Regions from separate parts of the Homo sapiens genome. Here all the other regions are linked to region 2. Evidence: promoter capture Hi-C in 16 types of primary human blood cells and fetal thymus (Javierre and others, 2016). All regions are on one chromosome and are shown on one strand. Each heading gives the region's core, a stretch centred on a gene start or on the middle of the fragment in contact. The rest is flanking DNA. Distances are from core to core; before and after follow the strand shown.

What was found. Contacts are between HindIII fragments. The CHiCAGO score rates a contact against its expected background, and 5 or more counts as called.
Region 1: a fragment that was not itself captured here is called in contact with the fragment with the promoter of KRT18 in region 2 in 1 of 17 cell types (M2 macrophages); the score reaches 5.3 in M2 macrophages.
Region 3: a fragment that was not itself captured here is called in contact with the fragment with the promoter of KRT18 in region 2 in 1 of 17 cell types (M0 macrophages); the score reaches 6.5 in M0 macrophages.
Region 4: a fragment that was not itself captured here is called in contact with the fragment with the promoter of KRT18 in region 2 in 4 of 17 cell types (erythroblasts, M0 macrophages, M2 macrophages and 1 more); the score reaches 6.9 in erythroblasts.

The regions. Positions count from the first base shown.
Region 1 is chr12:52,292,120-52,295,762 of GRCh38, forward strand. The region is part of intron 2 of KRT86 (keratin 86); the gene reads left to right. Among named protein-coding and RNA genes, the nearest start is that of KRT81, 2.4 kb to the left of the region's middle. The HindIII fragment of the contact is 3,486 bases long and covers 8-3,493 here.
Region 2 is chr12:52,946,598-52,950,432 of GRCh38, forward strand. KRT18 (keratin 18) reads left to right here and starts at 2,521. Exons shown (of 7, transcript NM_000224.3): 1 at 2,521-2,993; 2 at 3,731-3,813. The coding sequence starts at 2,577. It also overlaps a transcript of KRT8 not described here. RefSeq lists silencers at 1,168-1,462, 2,220-2,339, 2,350-2,429, 2,470-2,519, 3,181-3,204 and 3 more, enhancers at 1,853-2,227, 1,916-2,509, 2,510-3,103, 2,927-3,835, 3,038-3,692 and 1 more, promoters at 2,109-2,188, 2,109-2,119, 2,197-2,279, 2,489-2,550 and a cis regulatory region at 2,197-2,279. The HindIII fragment of the contact is 10,122 bases long and covers 1-3,835 here.
Region 3 is chr12:52,428,193-52,432,043 of GRCh38, forward strand. It overlaps KRT75 (keratin 75), which reads right to left. Exons shown (of 9, transcript NM_004693.3): 3 at 3,814-3,851; 4 at 3,351-3,446; 5 at 2,349-2,513; 6 at 426-551; 7 at 64-284. Among named protein-coding and RNA genes, the nearest start is that of KRT75, 4.3 kb to the right of the region's middle. The HindIII fragment of the contact is 1,203 bases long and covers 681-1,883 here.
Region 4 is chr12:52,401,258-52,405,050 of GRCh38, forward strand. It overlaps KRT82 (keratin 82), which reads right to left. Exons shown (of 9, transcript NM_033033.4): 2 at 2,444-2,652; 3 at 32-92. Among named protein-coding and RNA genes, the nearest start is that of KRT82, 3.2 kb to the right of the region's middle. The HindIII fragment of the contact is 2,387 bases long and covers 691-3,077 here.

The sequences.
Region 1 (3,643 bases), core at 501-3,000, 660 kb before region 2:
TGATGAAAGCTTTCAAATATTGAGGAAAATTGGAATAATACAACACACATGCATTGATGCTCCACCTGTTTACCCCGATTCAACAGTTAACATTATACCATATTTGCTTTCACAGTTGCCCAATTATTTGAGTGGCAGAAAGCATGGCATGTCACCCTTAAATACATCAGCAGGAATTTCTTAAGAATAAGGAGAGTACTATTTTCTTATTCAGGAAAATTAACAATAATTCCAAAGCACCACTTACTATTCATCTCAGATTCAATTTTCCTAACTGTCCTAAGGATTTTAAAACTACATTTTACATAATTTAATTTGTGGCTCTAGCCCTTGTATTTTCTATAAATTAGAAAGTAAATCTTGAGCTGGGATGTCCAATTTGGTAGACAATAGGCAGATGTGGCTACTTAAATTTAAGTTAGTAAAAACTAAATAAGTTAAAAATCTAGTTATTCAGTTGCACTATCCACATTTTGAGTCCTCAGCAGCTACCTGTAAGTAGTGCCTACCTTATTAGACAGTGCATATAAAGAACACTTCTTTATTATTTATTTTTATTTTATTTATTGTTTATTTTCACATAAAATTCTGTTGGACAGCACTGGGCTAGAGGCTGGATTAGGTTTAAATTAAACATTGTTGGGACAGAATACTTCATAAAATATGCTGTGTAACTCTTATTATATCACCCCAGGAAGCATAAAATGTCAGATTGGTGATGCTAAATTGAATCACAGCTGGGCGCAGTGGCTCATACCTGTAATCCCAGCACTTTGGGAGTCTGAGGGGGGTGGATCACCTGAGGTCAGGAGTTCAAGACCAGCCTCAGTGGAGGAGTTTAAGACCAGAGATGGTGAAACCCCGTCTCTACTACAAATACAAAAATTAGCCCGTTATGGTGGCACGTGCCTGTATTCCCAGCTACATGGGAGGCTAAGGCAGGAGAATTGCTTGAACCCAGGAGATGGAGGTTGGATCACTTCAGTACATTTCCCCCTGTATTAGGAAAAACTGTATAGAGAATTAGAATTAGAAAGAACTGTGTAGAGAAACATGGATCTTAGTTTGATAAGAATATGTTTCTTTTTAATTGGTCACCTACTATGTGATCATCATTATATATCGTAAATGATCTCTAATTCTCACATCAATCATATGAAGTATGTGCCATTATCCCCATTTTACTGATGAGGAAACCAAGGGTCAGGGAGGTTAAATAACTTGCCCGAAGTCTCCCAGCTGGTAAGTGATGGAGCCAGGAGTTGCATTGCCTTCTCACTTATAAGCTGTGACAACCCCTTGACTTCCTAATCTTTGGATAAGTTCAAGAGGGTAGTGAAAGTTGTTTACAGGGGAGTATCTGTGAATTTAGGGTGTGAGAGAGTCCATCTAAGGAAGACGGGCAGAGTCAGAGTGGATTGGGATGGTTAGAACCATGAGGGGTCATTTAGGGACACACGGCGATGTGAGGCTACTTGGGGGCTGGGAAGGAGTATGAGTTAGATGTGCAGCACCCCGTGGCTAAGAATTGAAGGACGGGGTGGAAAACATCAGTTTTAGTTATTTGCATACCTCTGGTATATGGCAATACTTTGATAGACTGTACTATGTTCTACTTACCCAGTGAACCACCCCCCACTCCAATAGAGCAGGTCCTAGAAAAATTAGCTCGTAAAGTACAGAGGTTTGCATTAAATTGAGGAGAAGAAAAGAGAAGTGAAATGGCCTGGCTTATAGCCCCCTGGAGCTGCTATGCTTCAAGGGCAAAGGCAGGCAGAGTAGACTTAGGGAATGAGAACAGAAGCAGGATTGATGGGAAAAGAGAGGAGAGGAAAAAAATAGAAGAGAATAGGGCTCTCAGGGTATCTGTGCAAAACATTCAGAGTGTGGCCTTGTGCAGGACAAATGTGGGAGGTCACAGACTGTGTTGAGCTATCTGGTCACCCCAGAGAAGAGTATGGCACCTGCTGTCCCTTTGTGAGTTCAGGGCTGCTGGGCCAGCACTTCTGAAGCTCTTTGTACCCTCATCTGGAATTTGGGGCACTGCTCACAATTGAGCAGTGATGTCCCCAGTAAACCAGCGGTTGGGTGTCCTGAGGAGCACTGTGAGTCAAAGTACATCTCATCCACACTTCACCTTTTCTACCAGTATAACTCCTTATAAAAACAACATGTATAAACACAAGCTAATTACTAATGGCTGGTCCTTACTAAGCAATTTTAAAGATGTAAGAATATGAAAAATTCAAATGTGACACCATTTCATTAAACTTCAGGAATTAATTGCTGCTAATTTTTGAAGACCTAAAAGGACATTCAACTTGTTTTCTTCAGAGTGAAAAAACCTTGTCATGGGGAAGGGAGGAGGGGAGGGAAGGTGGCAGGGAGGAGGGGAGGGAAGATGGCAGAATCTCCACTCTATGGTCTTGGCTCTGGCAAGGTAAAGAGGATAGATTTTAACTTTGTGGAGATAACAATTATTTTTATTGTGAAATATTTCAACACAAAAAATGCATAGGTGGTTAGATCTGTAGCAATACCTACCACTTATAGGAAAAAATAGAACATGTGTGTATTTCAGGAGCTTCCTATGTACCTTGTTCTGATTGTACCCTACTCCTTCCTGGCCTAGGGTGACTCCTCTCTTGCATTTTGTGTTTAATTATTCCTTTGCTTTTCTTACAGTTTTAGAACCAATGCACCCATCTTGCAATGACATATTGTTTCTTTTTCCAGCTTTTGAACTTCACATAAATGGACTCATGTTGCATGGATCCTTGTGCATCTGGTTTCTTTCATTAAATGTTGCTTCCTGTAGCTGTCCTGTGTTCATTTTCACTGTGGATTGCACTCATTGCATGGCTATACCACAGTTTATTTGCCTTTCTACCTCGATAGCCACAAGGTTGTTTCCAGAGTTCTGTAGATTGAACAGAGCTGCTATGAACATCCTTTCTCATGTCTTCTGGTGCATTTATGCAAGAGTTTTTCTGGGGTATGTGGCTATTTTTTTTAAAGTTATGTCAGTAGTAGATGTTTCATGTAGAAAGCTATTTTATGACTATTCTTCCAAACTTAATAATAAAATCTTTTGATGTTCATCTTATACCACACTAGATACTATTTTAAGAGTCCAACATGCATTAACTCATTTAATTTTTACAGTTGCCCTCTGAGGTTGGTGTTATTATTCTCGTTTTATAGATGAGGACACTGAGGTCTAGGGAGGTTAAGGCTCAGGTTGCATGTTAGTAGCAGAACTGGAACCCAGAGCCTGTGTGTCTGATCCCAAAGGAAGGGATGCGTTTGTCCCATTGCACTCCCTTCTGTACACCATCGGCCATCAGTAATAAGTATCACACAGTAGCTGGTGTTTGTACATAACATAAAAACACAAACACTCATCTTGCCCCATGCCCTCTGCAGGGCCCTGCAGGTTGCTCTCAGGGTTCAGGGCCAGAGAGTATAGGAGAGCTCACCCTTGTTCTTGGCAAGCTTCCAGTATTAAGAGAAAAGCAGAGACACATACCCAGATAATGAACAAAAATGGAAACCCTGCAGCACATCAGTGTGTACAAATGTTTTCTTCGTGGATATATTCCAAGGGCTTGTCACATAGTAGGTGCTCAATAAATATTTTTTG
Region 2 (3,835 bases), core at 1,271-3,770:
AAAGGCAGTACGTAGCTTGTTGACTCCACATACTTTATTATAAAATACTGCCCAACTTGACAGTTCTGGAATCCAGTGGGGGAATATAAAGGTGAAAGCAGGAGAGACCCCTCTGACTGGAACCTCTTACCTCCCAGAAGCCTTGTATGCAAAACCAGTGGGCATTCATTTGTATGTTATTTTGCATCCCGTTTGCCTCCCAGCCTTCAGCAGGCCCCGACCCTCCCCTGGCCAGCTTCCACCCTGACTGCCCCCTGGCTGGCTCCCATTGAGCACTGTGGGGCTCTCCCCACCATTAGGTGACAGATCAGGAACAATCCAGGCTCAGGCTCTTTATCTGTGCTCTGCCTCCCACCTGGCAGGTCCACTGGCCAGGCTTTTCCAGGGTCCCTTCTCTCCCAGGTCTGCCCTACTATTTGTCCTCCCCTTCCCCCTCAGCTGGTAGCTCGATAAGAATCAATAGGTCCACTCCAGAGCAAAGAACACAGCCAAATGTGTCATACCAGGCCCTGCCAGAAAAACGAGCTGCTGGAGCTGACAAACTTGAAGGCCAAACACCTAAGGGTTCCCCCCAACACTTCATTCAGCAGGGATGGTCATTCAGCTTCAGGGGGCAGGCAGCATGAAAGCCTCCCTACCTCCATCCTTCTCACACAGAGGCTGGGGAGAGCATCTTGGAGGATGCAGTCCCCTGGGGCCAGGCTTCTAATCCAGACAGCCCTTACAAGGGGGGACAGGGGAAGGACTGGCTTGGAGAAAAGTCCTAGAAAAGAGGGGAGGGGCACTGGCCACCAGGGCTGGGTCGCTGCTATGATGGTCCTAGGAGTGCCTGCCTGTCCTCTCAGGCCCCATGCGATGTAGGACACATTACTTTTATTTATTTATTTATTTATTTATTTTGAGTCAGAGTTTCGCTCTGGTTGCCCAGGCTGGAGCGCGACGGCACGATCTTGGCTCACTGCAACCTCTGCCTCCTGGGTTCAAGCGATTCTCCTGCCTCAGCCTCCTGAGTAGCTGGGATTACAGGCACACACTGTGCCTGGTTAATTTTTGTATTTTTAGTAGAGAAGGGGTGTCACCATGTTGGTCAGGCTGGTCTCAAATTTTTTTTTTTTTTTTTTTTTTTTGAGACAGAGTCTTGCTCTGTTGTCTAGGCTGGAGTGCAGTGGCATCGAACTCTTGACCTCAAGTGATCCACCCGCCTCGGCCTCCCAAAGTGCTTGGATTACAGGCATGAGCCACTGTGCCCGGCGATGTGGGACACATTATCATCTCTGTGAGAGATTTTTGGTCTCTTTTGTCACCGCCCTTCTCTCCCAGCTCCTAGAACTGGGCCTGGCTCACAGTAGGTGCTGAATGCATACTGGTTGAATTGTAAATGCTCAGGATTTGTTTAATTAAGGATGCAGGAAAGGTGATATACCGGTGTGCAGAAGTCAGGATGCATTCCCTGTCCAAATCACAGTGTTCCACTGAGGCAAGGCCCTTGGGAGTGAGGTCGGGAGAGGGGAGGGTGGTGGAGGGGGCTCAGAGACTGGGTTTGTTTTGGGGAGTCTGCACCTATTTGCTGAGTGAATGTATGTGTGTGTGCATTTGAGAGCACACCTCTGTATGATTCGGGTGTGAGTGTGTGTGAGGAAACGTGGGCAGGCGAGGAGTGTTTGGGAGCCAGGTGCAGCTGGGGTGTGAGTGTGTAAGCAAGCAGCTATGAGGCTGGGCATTGCTTCTCCTCCTCTTCTCCAGCTCCCAGCCTTTCTTCCCCGGGACTCCTGGGGCTCCAGGATGCCCCCAAGATCCCCTCCACAAGTGGATAATTTGGGCTGCAGGTTAAGGACAGCTAGAGGGACTCACAGGCCATTCCACCCGCACACCACCAGACCCCCAAATTTCTTTTTTCTTTTTTTTTTTTTTTTTTTTTGAGACAGAGTCTCACTCTGTCGCCAGGCTGCAGTGGCGCGATCTCGGCTCACTGCAACCTCCGCCTCCCAGGTTCAAGCGATTCCCCTTCCTCAGCCTCCCAAGTAGCTGAGACTACAGGCGTGCACCATCACGTCCGGCTAATTTTTTGTATTTTAGTAGAGAGGGGGTTTCACCATGTTGGCTAGGATGGTCTCGATCTCCTGACCTCGTGATCCGCCCACCTAGGCCTCCCAAAGTGCTGAGATTACAGGCGTGAGCCACTGCGCCCGGTCAAGACTCCCAAATTTCAAACTCGCCAGCACCTCCTCCACCTGGGGGAGAAGAGCATAATAACGTCATTTCCTGCCCTGAAAGCAGCCTCGAGGGCCAACAACACCTGCTGTCCGTGTCCATGCCCGGTTGGCCACCCCGTTTCTGGGGGGTGAGCGGGGCTTGGCAGGGCTGCGCGGAGGGCGCGGGGGTGGGGCCCGGGGCGGAGCGGCCCGGGGCGGAGGGCGCGGGCTCCGAGCCGTCCACCTGTGGCTCCGGCTTCCGAAGCGGCTCCGGGGCGGGGGCGGGGCCTCACTCTGCGATATAACTCGGGTCGCGCGGCTCGCGCAGGCCGCCACCGTCGTCCGCAAAGCCTGAGTCCTGTCCTTTCTCTCTCCCCGGACAGCATGAGCTTCACCACTCGCTCCACCTTCTCCACCAACTACCGGTCCCTGGGCTCTGTCCAGGCGCCCAGCTACGGCGCCCGGCCGGTCAGCAGCGCGGCCAGCGTCTATGCAGGCGCTGGGGGCTCTGGTTCCCGGATCTCCGTGTCCCGCTCCACCAGCTTCAGGGGCGGCATGGGGTCCGGGGGCCTGGCCACCGGGATAGCCGGGGGTCTGGCAGGAATGGGAGGCATCCAGAACGAGAAGGAGACCATGCAAAGCCTGAACGACCGCCTGGCCTCTTACCTGGACAGAGTGAGGAGCCTGGAGACCGAGAACCGGAGGCTGGAGAGCAAAATCCGGGAGCACTTGGAGAAGAAGGGACCCCAGGTCAGAGACTGGAGCCATTACTTCAAGATCATCGAGGACCTGAGGGCTCAGGTAAGGGGTAGGAGGGACCTCAACTCCCAGCCTTGTCTGACCCTCCAATTATACACTCCTTTGCCTCTTTCCGTCATTCCATAACCACCCAACCCCTACTCCACCGGGAGGGGGTTGGGCATACCTGGATTTCCATCCGCGCACCTAGCCACAGGGTCCCTAAGAGCAGCAGCTAGGCATGGGAGGGCTCTTTCCCAGGAGAGAGGGGGAAGGGGACAGGGTTGAGAGCTTTACAGAGGAAGTGGACAGCATGGAGGGAGGTAAGGAAAGGCCTGTAAAGAGGAGGAGACACTGGCTCTGGCGGAATGGGGACTATTGGAGGGTTAAGCGGATGTGGCTAAGGCTGAGTCATCTAGGAGTAAACAAGAGGCCTTCCTTTGGGAGGAGCCAATCCAGGGTGTAGGGGGCCCAGAGTGACCAGGTGCACTAGGGAAAAAATGCCAGGAGAGGGCCAGGAAGAGGACTTGTTAGTAGCGACTCACTTCTGGGCAGGCAGGCCAGCCAGCTAGCCAGCCTGCTGAGGCTTCCCAAGAGGGGCAGAGTGCTGGGATCTGGGAATCCAGGAAAGGAGGGAATGGGGTGGGGCTAGATGAAAAGGGATAGGTGTCCAGGGAGAGCCTCTGGCTATTCCTGGGACCAGGAAGTTTTCACTAGGATACATAACACTTTTTACACACTCACCCCACCCATCCCTGGCTTTCTATTCATGGAACAACCTCTCTCTACAATCCCTCCAGATCTTCGCAAATACTGTGGACAATGCCCGCATCGTTCTGCAGATTGACAATGCCCGTCTTGCTGCTGATGACTTTAGAGTCAAGTAAGTTTGGGGGCTAGAGAGC
Region 3 (3,851 bases), core at 32-2,531, 520 kb before region 2:
ATGCCCAGGAAGCTGAGGTGAGCTCAACTTGCTTTGAGGATGAAGTTGGTGCATCTGCCTCACCTGCACTCCTCGCCTTCCAGCAGCTTGCGGTAGGTGGCGATCTCCACGTCCAGGGCCAGCTTGATGTTCATCAGCTCCTGGTACTCACGCAGGAGCCGAGCCATGTCCTGCTTGGCCTTCTGCAGGGCCTCCTCAAGGTCCACCAGCTTGGCCCGTGCATCCTTGAGAGCCAGTTCTCCCCGCTGCTCTGCATCAGCAATGGCCGTTTGCAAGCTGGAACACTGTAAGGACAGGAGGAAGCCATGAGTCCTGCTGACAGCCCATGGAGGTGTGGTGCTTCTTGGGGAGGAGTTCTTAAAGATGGCAGAAAGGCCCAGAAGAAATGAGCATTTGAGGAGCTCTTGGCCCTGCCAAATCTTTACCTGCTTCTTGACGCTGTCAATCTCAGCTCTCAGCCTCTGGATCATGCGGTTCATTTCAGAGATCTCTTGTTTGGTGTTTCGAAGGTCATCCCCATGTCTGCCTGCGGTGACCTGCAGCTCCTCGTACTGAGAGAACCAGAGCAAACCCAGTCACTGAGTCAAATGCCTGGCCCAGGCACTCGCTGTGCACACAGACCCACCCTGGGTGCCACAAGCAGGCTCATTCATTCCTGGTCATTCACTCATTCCCCCTGAAGCTTACAGTTTATTGGGGGACATAGACATTAACTGAATTAGCATATTATCAAATGTATAGTTCCACACTAAGATAAGTGCCCTTAGGAAATGAACAGGGTCCTGGGAGAGTGTAATGAAGGAATCTGACCTAGATTTGGAAGTGGGAAGTGGTGGTCAGAGAAGTCTCTCCAGAGATGGAGATGCTTGAACTGTGGTCTGAAGGATGAGAAGGAGGGACCTAAGTGACCAGTTGTGGGGGAGAACATTCCAGACAAAGGAAACAGCCTGCATGAAGACTCTGGGTCAGGGAAGGAACATGGTGAGTTCTAGGAGTGAGACGGTGATTTGATCAAGGTCCCTGGGTAGTTCCTGGTCACAGAGCGTGCATCCAGACCAACTGTGCCCATGAATTTTGGTAGCCCTCCAAACACCAGTGCTGGGGAAACAGGGAGGAGATATGGGGGAATGGTGTGGGATGGTGCAGAGGCTGTGGAAGGCACAATTTTGAAGACTTTGTAAAAGTATTCCCAATCTCAGGTAGTTCTCAATCTAATGGTGCATATCCAGGACATGTGAATTTAAGAGCAATAATTACACCCTGTCTCCTCCAGCAGACTGAAGTGAAACCTACACCTTTCCCTGACAAAAGGAGATCCCCTGCCAGAGTCAAGATCTGTGGGGTTCTTGAAAGTGCTGAATAGCTCAGGTTCCCGCTTCTAGGTATACATGATTAAATGGAGCAACAACCCAACAACATGAGGAATCGTTTGCTATCGATTTCAACCACTTCACCTTGGGGTTAAGTGCATCATGTTTCCTTTCACCGTCAAGGCGCTGCCTCTGCCCTGTGGAACCCTGGTCCCTGCTACCCACCTTCCTTTCCACCACACTCCTGACCAGAAGGGATGAGGCAACGTATGGAGCAGGGAAAGAGTTGGAACCTGCTCGTAGGTGAGAAGCTGCCCCAAGAGGGGTCTGGATTTGACAGGGAGCTGGTATCATGGGTCAATTGTACCCCGCAAAGCCAAACTTCTTTGCGGCTGTCTGAGCTCTGGGCAGTAGCTGTTTGTGTTTATCCCAGCCTTCCTCTTCCTGACATAAACTCCCTTGCTTGTTCTTGCCTGCCAGCTCCTTGTTCAGCCTTAAACCTCTCCCCACTCCTCAGCAATCTTTTGTCCCTCATGGCTTCCCAACTGTACAAAGCCCCCATGTCTTCCTGGAAGCTTTTTATTCATGCTATCTTTTCCCTTCCATGATTGTCCATTCACTTCATGGCCTCCCAGAGCTTGGGTTCTCTGTTTGCAGTTTATTTATTTGCAACCCTGTAACCCTGATTGGCATACAGCAGGAGCTCAGAAAATATATAGAGAATAAATAAGCCTTTTAGAAACTGCTTCATGACTGTGTCTCGGTTGTCCTGGTGTCTCACCCTGCTCCCACCCAGATCTTGAGGAATGTGGGGCCAGTGGATGTCCTGAGCTCCCAGCATTGGGCTGACCATGTATTAGTGTGTCTGGTTCGGTTTCCACATGCATTTCAAGCTAAGTTGTCATAGCATCAAAGACATGCCTGCTAAGTTGAAATAAACGAATGTGCTCACACGTTTCCTGAGGCTGAGTTAAGTGATAATGTGGAGCCTCAGAGAACACTAACCCTGGAACCTCTCATGGAGGTGTCCATGCTCACCTTGGTCTGGTACCAGGACTCAGCCTCGGCCCGGCTGCGGTTGGCAATGTCCTCGTATTGTGCTTTGACCTCGGCGATGATACTATCCAGGTCCAGGTTGCGGTTGTTGTCCATGGACAGCACCACGGATGTGTCACCGACCTGGGTCTGCAACTGGGACAGCTCCTGCAGGGCAGTAAACTCAGCATCACCAAGGCATAAGATGAAGAATCTTAAATCTTCGTGGTTAACTACCCATCTAGGTCAGGAATCCTTTCCTTGGTATTCCTGGCAGATTCTCCCAGCTATTCCCTAGGTATTCCCATTCATCCCAAAAGATCAGTGTGGTGAAAATCTTTCCCAGCCTTACTTCTCAAGGCTCCCATCTGTGTGCTTTCCCCAGGCATGAGGGTGGGTAAGCATCCTCTGAATTGGAATTACATAGATTTGAATGTGACACGTGTCTGTTCAGTATGCCAACATAAACGGCTTCTTTAAGAGCATTGGGGACATCTGGGACACTGCTTCCCCCTGCACAGTGTGACTCCATCACTTTCTACCTCTCTCTCCCTTTCCACAGACCCAGGTCTCTGCCTTTGGAGGGGTAGCGCCCAGAATGAGGCATCTTCAAAGGGTAGGAAGCCCCCTGACCAATGAGCTGAGGGACAGCTTGCCTTTTTTTTTTTTTAATACTTTTCAGGGAAGGGGAAGGGAGCAGGTATGTGTTGATTCCTTGGGAAATTACCCAGTGTCCTAGAATTTGGGAATCAGTACTCTCTCCTTGTTAGATGTTGTCCTGCCATGGGATAAGGGAGTTCGGGGGAGAAGCATCAGAGCTGGGGTAGTTTAGTATGACAAGGCTCCAAGTGGTTCTCCCTGGTCCCCCTACCACCCAAGCCCCAGCTTGAAGTATCCAAGCAAGATGCTGGGCAGAGGCACTGAATGAATGAATGGCACAATGCATCATCCTTTTCTTTCCAGGCTCCAGACCTAGGAGAGACAGAAATACTTGCAGACTCTTACTGCATCAAAGACTGAGTGGATGAAGTTGATCTCCTCGGGCAGAGATTTGACCTTGGCTTCCAGCTCCACCTTGTTCATATAGGCAGCATCTACGTCCTGGAATGACAGCGCAGGATGCTCCTTTGAGTCTGCAGCCCCAAGTATCTAGTCCAAAAGAAGCTGAGCAGATTTCTCCCCAGCCCATCTAGTTTGGATTTTAGAAAACTCTGGGTCTGGGTGATTTGGGGTTGGGGATGGGTAATTACGGAGAACTGGGGGCTTGAATTCCCTGAGCTCACAGAAACCCAAGTAGGGCTAATGGGGCCATCAACGTAGAGGGAACATGTTGGGAGGTTTGAACTCTGCAGATATTCTCAAGGTTGATGTGACATTTCTTGGGTGGCCCAAGGGTCAGAGGTCAGGTTACCCCACACTCCAGATTCCATTTTAAACCTTCTCCTTTGAGAGAAACATCCCCACTCACCTTTTTCAGGGCTACAAATTCATTCTCAGCAGCTGTGC
Region 4 (3,793 bases), core at 634-3,133, 550 kb before region 2:
GGGGCTCTGCCTCTCTGAGCTTCCTCCTTACCTTCTTCAAGGCAACAAACTCATTCTCAACACAGGGACGCAGGGAGAGCTCCTCTTCGTATCTGATGGAAAAGGCAGGAAAAAATGCTTTAGTCGGGCTTGTGGATTTTGGAAGAGATCTTGGCATCAGGCCTTTGGGGGCAACTCTGCCTGTCACTGACTGAATGCCCTGGGGAGTGCCCAGGTCCAGCCCTGTCTTGGCAACTCTAGCTCCTCCACCCACTTGAGATGGATGAGTAGCCACTTGTCAAGTTTACTCTTCTCCCCATTCCTCAGGAACCTTCTCCCGCGATGAGTCCTCCCTGGGAGATCCTCCTTAAGGCTACCTTCATTCTCTCTTGCTGCTGAGGAGGTTCACTTCACCTAGTGGCCTCCCTTGGGAACGTAGAAGAAGGCTGTGCTGCTGGCCTAGCTGTTTTTTTCTGAGTCACTGAAATTCCCGGCTGACCCTGTGCATCCTCCTCGCTGGGAGGGTTCAGAGCCTGGCCTCTACCTGTGGTCCATTTGCAGAGGTAGCAATTATCCATCTTACCAGACCCACAGAGACAGCCAGGCTATTTCCTCAGGCTCCTTGGGGCTCCTCAGCCCACTCACCACTCCCCTAAGGCAGAGGGAATTGGTCAGGGGGTTCAGTTTGATAAGCAGCATCAATTCATTAAAAGCTTCTCTGCTTCATCATGTCCATCTCTCTTTTTTTCCAGCAGAACTGCTGCAGCAACGGCCCTGGACTCTGGAGCCTAGCCCCCTGGGTTTGAATTCTGGCTCTGTCCCGTGCAAGCTGTGGGCAAGTTGGGTAAGTGACTTGGCCTTTCTGCCTCATGATGCACAGCTTCGTCATCCATAGAATGAGGCTAACACTAGTTCTGCCTCACAGGGCTGTTGTGAGCTAACATGTCACATGCATTAATACCTGAAGAGCACTAGGACAGTGCCTGGTACAGGCTCTGTACTGTGAAAGTGTTTGCTATTATTCTTAAAATACCAGTTGGACCTCATCCTTCCCCGATTGTCTCACTTTTAAAAGCCAAAGTTCTCATCTTGAGCTGCAAATCCTGTCTCTTAATCTCACCTTGCTACTCACTCCTCAAGAAAGGCATTGCTTCTGCTGACAGGCTGGCCTCCAGCCCTCCCACAGCCTCACTGCATCTCACCTGTCACAGTCTGCTAGAGTTGTCCCCTTCACTTGGCAGGCCCTTCCTCTTTCTTGCCACCCATTCCTGTCCTTTCCCCATTTCCAAAATGGAGGATAATGCCATTGGAATGAGCCATTATCCTCCAAGGGCCAGAGCAAATCGCACCTCCTCCAGGAAGGCTTCCTGGACTCCCGCTCTTTCCCTTTCTTGGGATTCCTCTCCCTTCTTCTCTGTTTGTGTGTAGGTGCAGGTGGTCTGTGCACACTGGACTGGGAAAGAGTTAGCCTTTTTTCTTTCAATAGCACCCACACTTTCTAGCACAGTGTCTGGCATTGAGTAGGCATGTGGTTGACACCTGCAGTGAGTGTCCCCAACACGGCTCCACTTCACTGACCCAAACCCTTATGACCTGTTGCTCTCAGTATATTTGCCCTGTTTCTCCTCAATAGAAAGACACCTGTTTCAACTTGCCTGCCTCTAACATGCACTCCCATAGGACACTGGACTGTCACAAGGCACTGGATTCCCATGGGGCACTGGATTCCCATAGGACACTGGATTCCCATGGGGCACTCAGCCCGGGACCTGGTGAGAAAATTTATCTGGGCCTCAGCCTCTTGAAAGCACTTAATTACCATATGCTTATCAACCACCTACTCCAAGCTGTGAATTAGACCTGGAGCTCATCCTCAGGGGGAGCAAGTGTGGCAGAAGACAAAACAGGAACCACAAAGAACTGGGAAGTGAGGCAGAAGGAGCTAGAGCCTGATATGCAGGGAAAGGGCAGAAGGGCTGTGCAGGAAGCCAGAGTTGGGGGTGAGAGAAAAGGTGGGCTGTGGTAGCTTGGACATGGAGCAGAGAGATGCTGACAGGGGTGTGTCAGGCAGGAGAAGCAGCAGGAACAAAAGCCCGGAGGGAAGAGGCCTGGGGATCTGTCTGTGGAATAGGAAGTAGTTCAGGATCTGCAAAGGCACAACAGGCAGTTTCAGCTGGAAGCTGGAGCTCCAGAAGCCACACATGAAAGAGCTTATTTTACAGAGAGAGAGAGATCTGAGGGCTTTATTTAGGTGGAGTAGTGGGGAGAGAGATGGCAATACACAGTCTCAGAGCTCCTACCGTGTGCCAAGTGGGGTGCCCTGCTGACACCATCCCACCTAACTGTTCTGCCACCCAGTGAACTAAGTTTAGGCTTCCCATTTTATAAATGGGGAATCAGGGCCCAGACTGTTTCTGTCCCTTGCCCCAGGTCCACCAGTGGGGTAAAAGCAGCACTGACTCACTTTTTCTTGTAGCCCTCCAGTGCAGCCTGGAGGCTGCAGAGCTCTGACTCTAGCCTCACGCGGTCCCCGGACACACAGTCCAGCTGCCGCCGAAGGGCGCTGATATAGCCCTCGAAGATGGGCTCGATGTTGGTCTGGCAGCACCTCTGCTGCTGCATGAAGTTCCACTTGGTCTCCAGCAGCTTGTTCTTCTGCTCCAGGAAACGGACCTGCAGCCAAGAATGGAATATCACCAGGCAGCAGAGATCCTGGGGACCATGACTTAGAGAGGGCAATGGAATGAGTTTCTGCCCTGTCTCCCAACACATGGCTACCAGTGCACTAGAATTTGCAAAAATCAGGGTCTCTGCATAGACTGGCATCTGAGGGCATGTGTGTCTGTGTCTCCCCTGCCTGGGAGAGCCTAGTGGACCCCTACTTTCCACTCAGAGGTTGCGTGTTGTAGTGGATGGTACTTCTCCAAGAGGCCTAGGCAAGTCCTGTTTCAGCACTGCCTGCCTGCCTCTCTCTATCCTCGTGACCTTGACCAAGACATCCTGTCCCTTCAAGCCTCACTTTGCTTCCCAAAGCTCCTACCTGGGACAGTGTATGGGAAGGGACTCTGTTAACTTCATACTAGTGTCAGAGGATGTGAAGCTTGGGGGTCGAGGCTTTCCTTTATGACAGCCTAGGGACACTCAGGGGAAAAGACGGATCAAGGGACTCTAAGCTCTTTTCACCTACTGTGCTGCATCCTACATGGCTGTATCTGAAAAAAGTCCAGGTCCTAGTAATGTGGACAGCTGCTGGCCTCCTCCTCCCTTTTCGTAAAGTGGAAACTGAGATTAGGAGTTGAGTAAGTTCACCATGGCCACCCGGCTGGACATTGACTAAGGGAACGTGGTCTCCAGCCCTTGCTCTGGAATTTTCCACATCGTGCATTGTCTGTCAAGAAAACTACAGAAGTATCATTGCCCTACTTCTGGTCAGTGGCTGCATCAACAGGAGGCTCCCAGCCTAACAGAAGGTGGTGTGATGTTGTTGCTAATTCGGGCCCATGTTTTTGGAATAAGTTTATAGCCAGAACTTAATAAGCTTTAGAAATAAAACTGTAAGTTTGACTAAACAAGTTCCTCTGTGAAGCACTTTGGCATATATTACCTCCTCTAATCTCCCACCGTCATTCCTCCCCTTCCTCACTGGGCAGCACCGTCCAAAGGCCAAGAGGTGAATGGCTTGCCCGGGGATTCCGGGTGTAGGAGTAGAGTCAATGCCAGTGGCCAGGGCTCCTGACCTCTGGCCCAGGACTCTTGCCCCTAAACCTTACGGTCACCAGAAACACCAGCTCAAACTGTGGAATGAATCCTCACC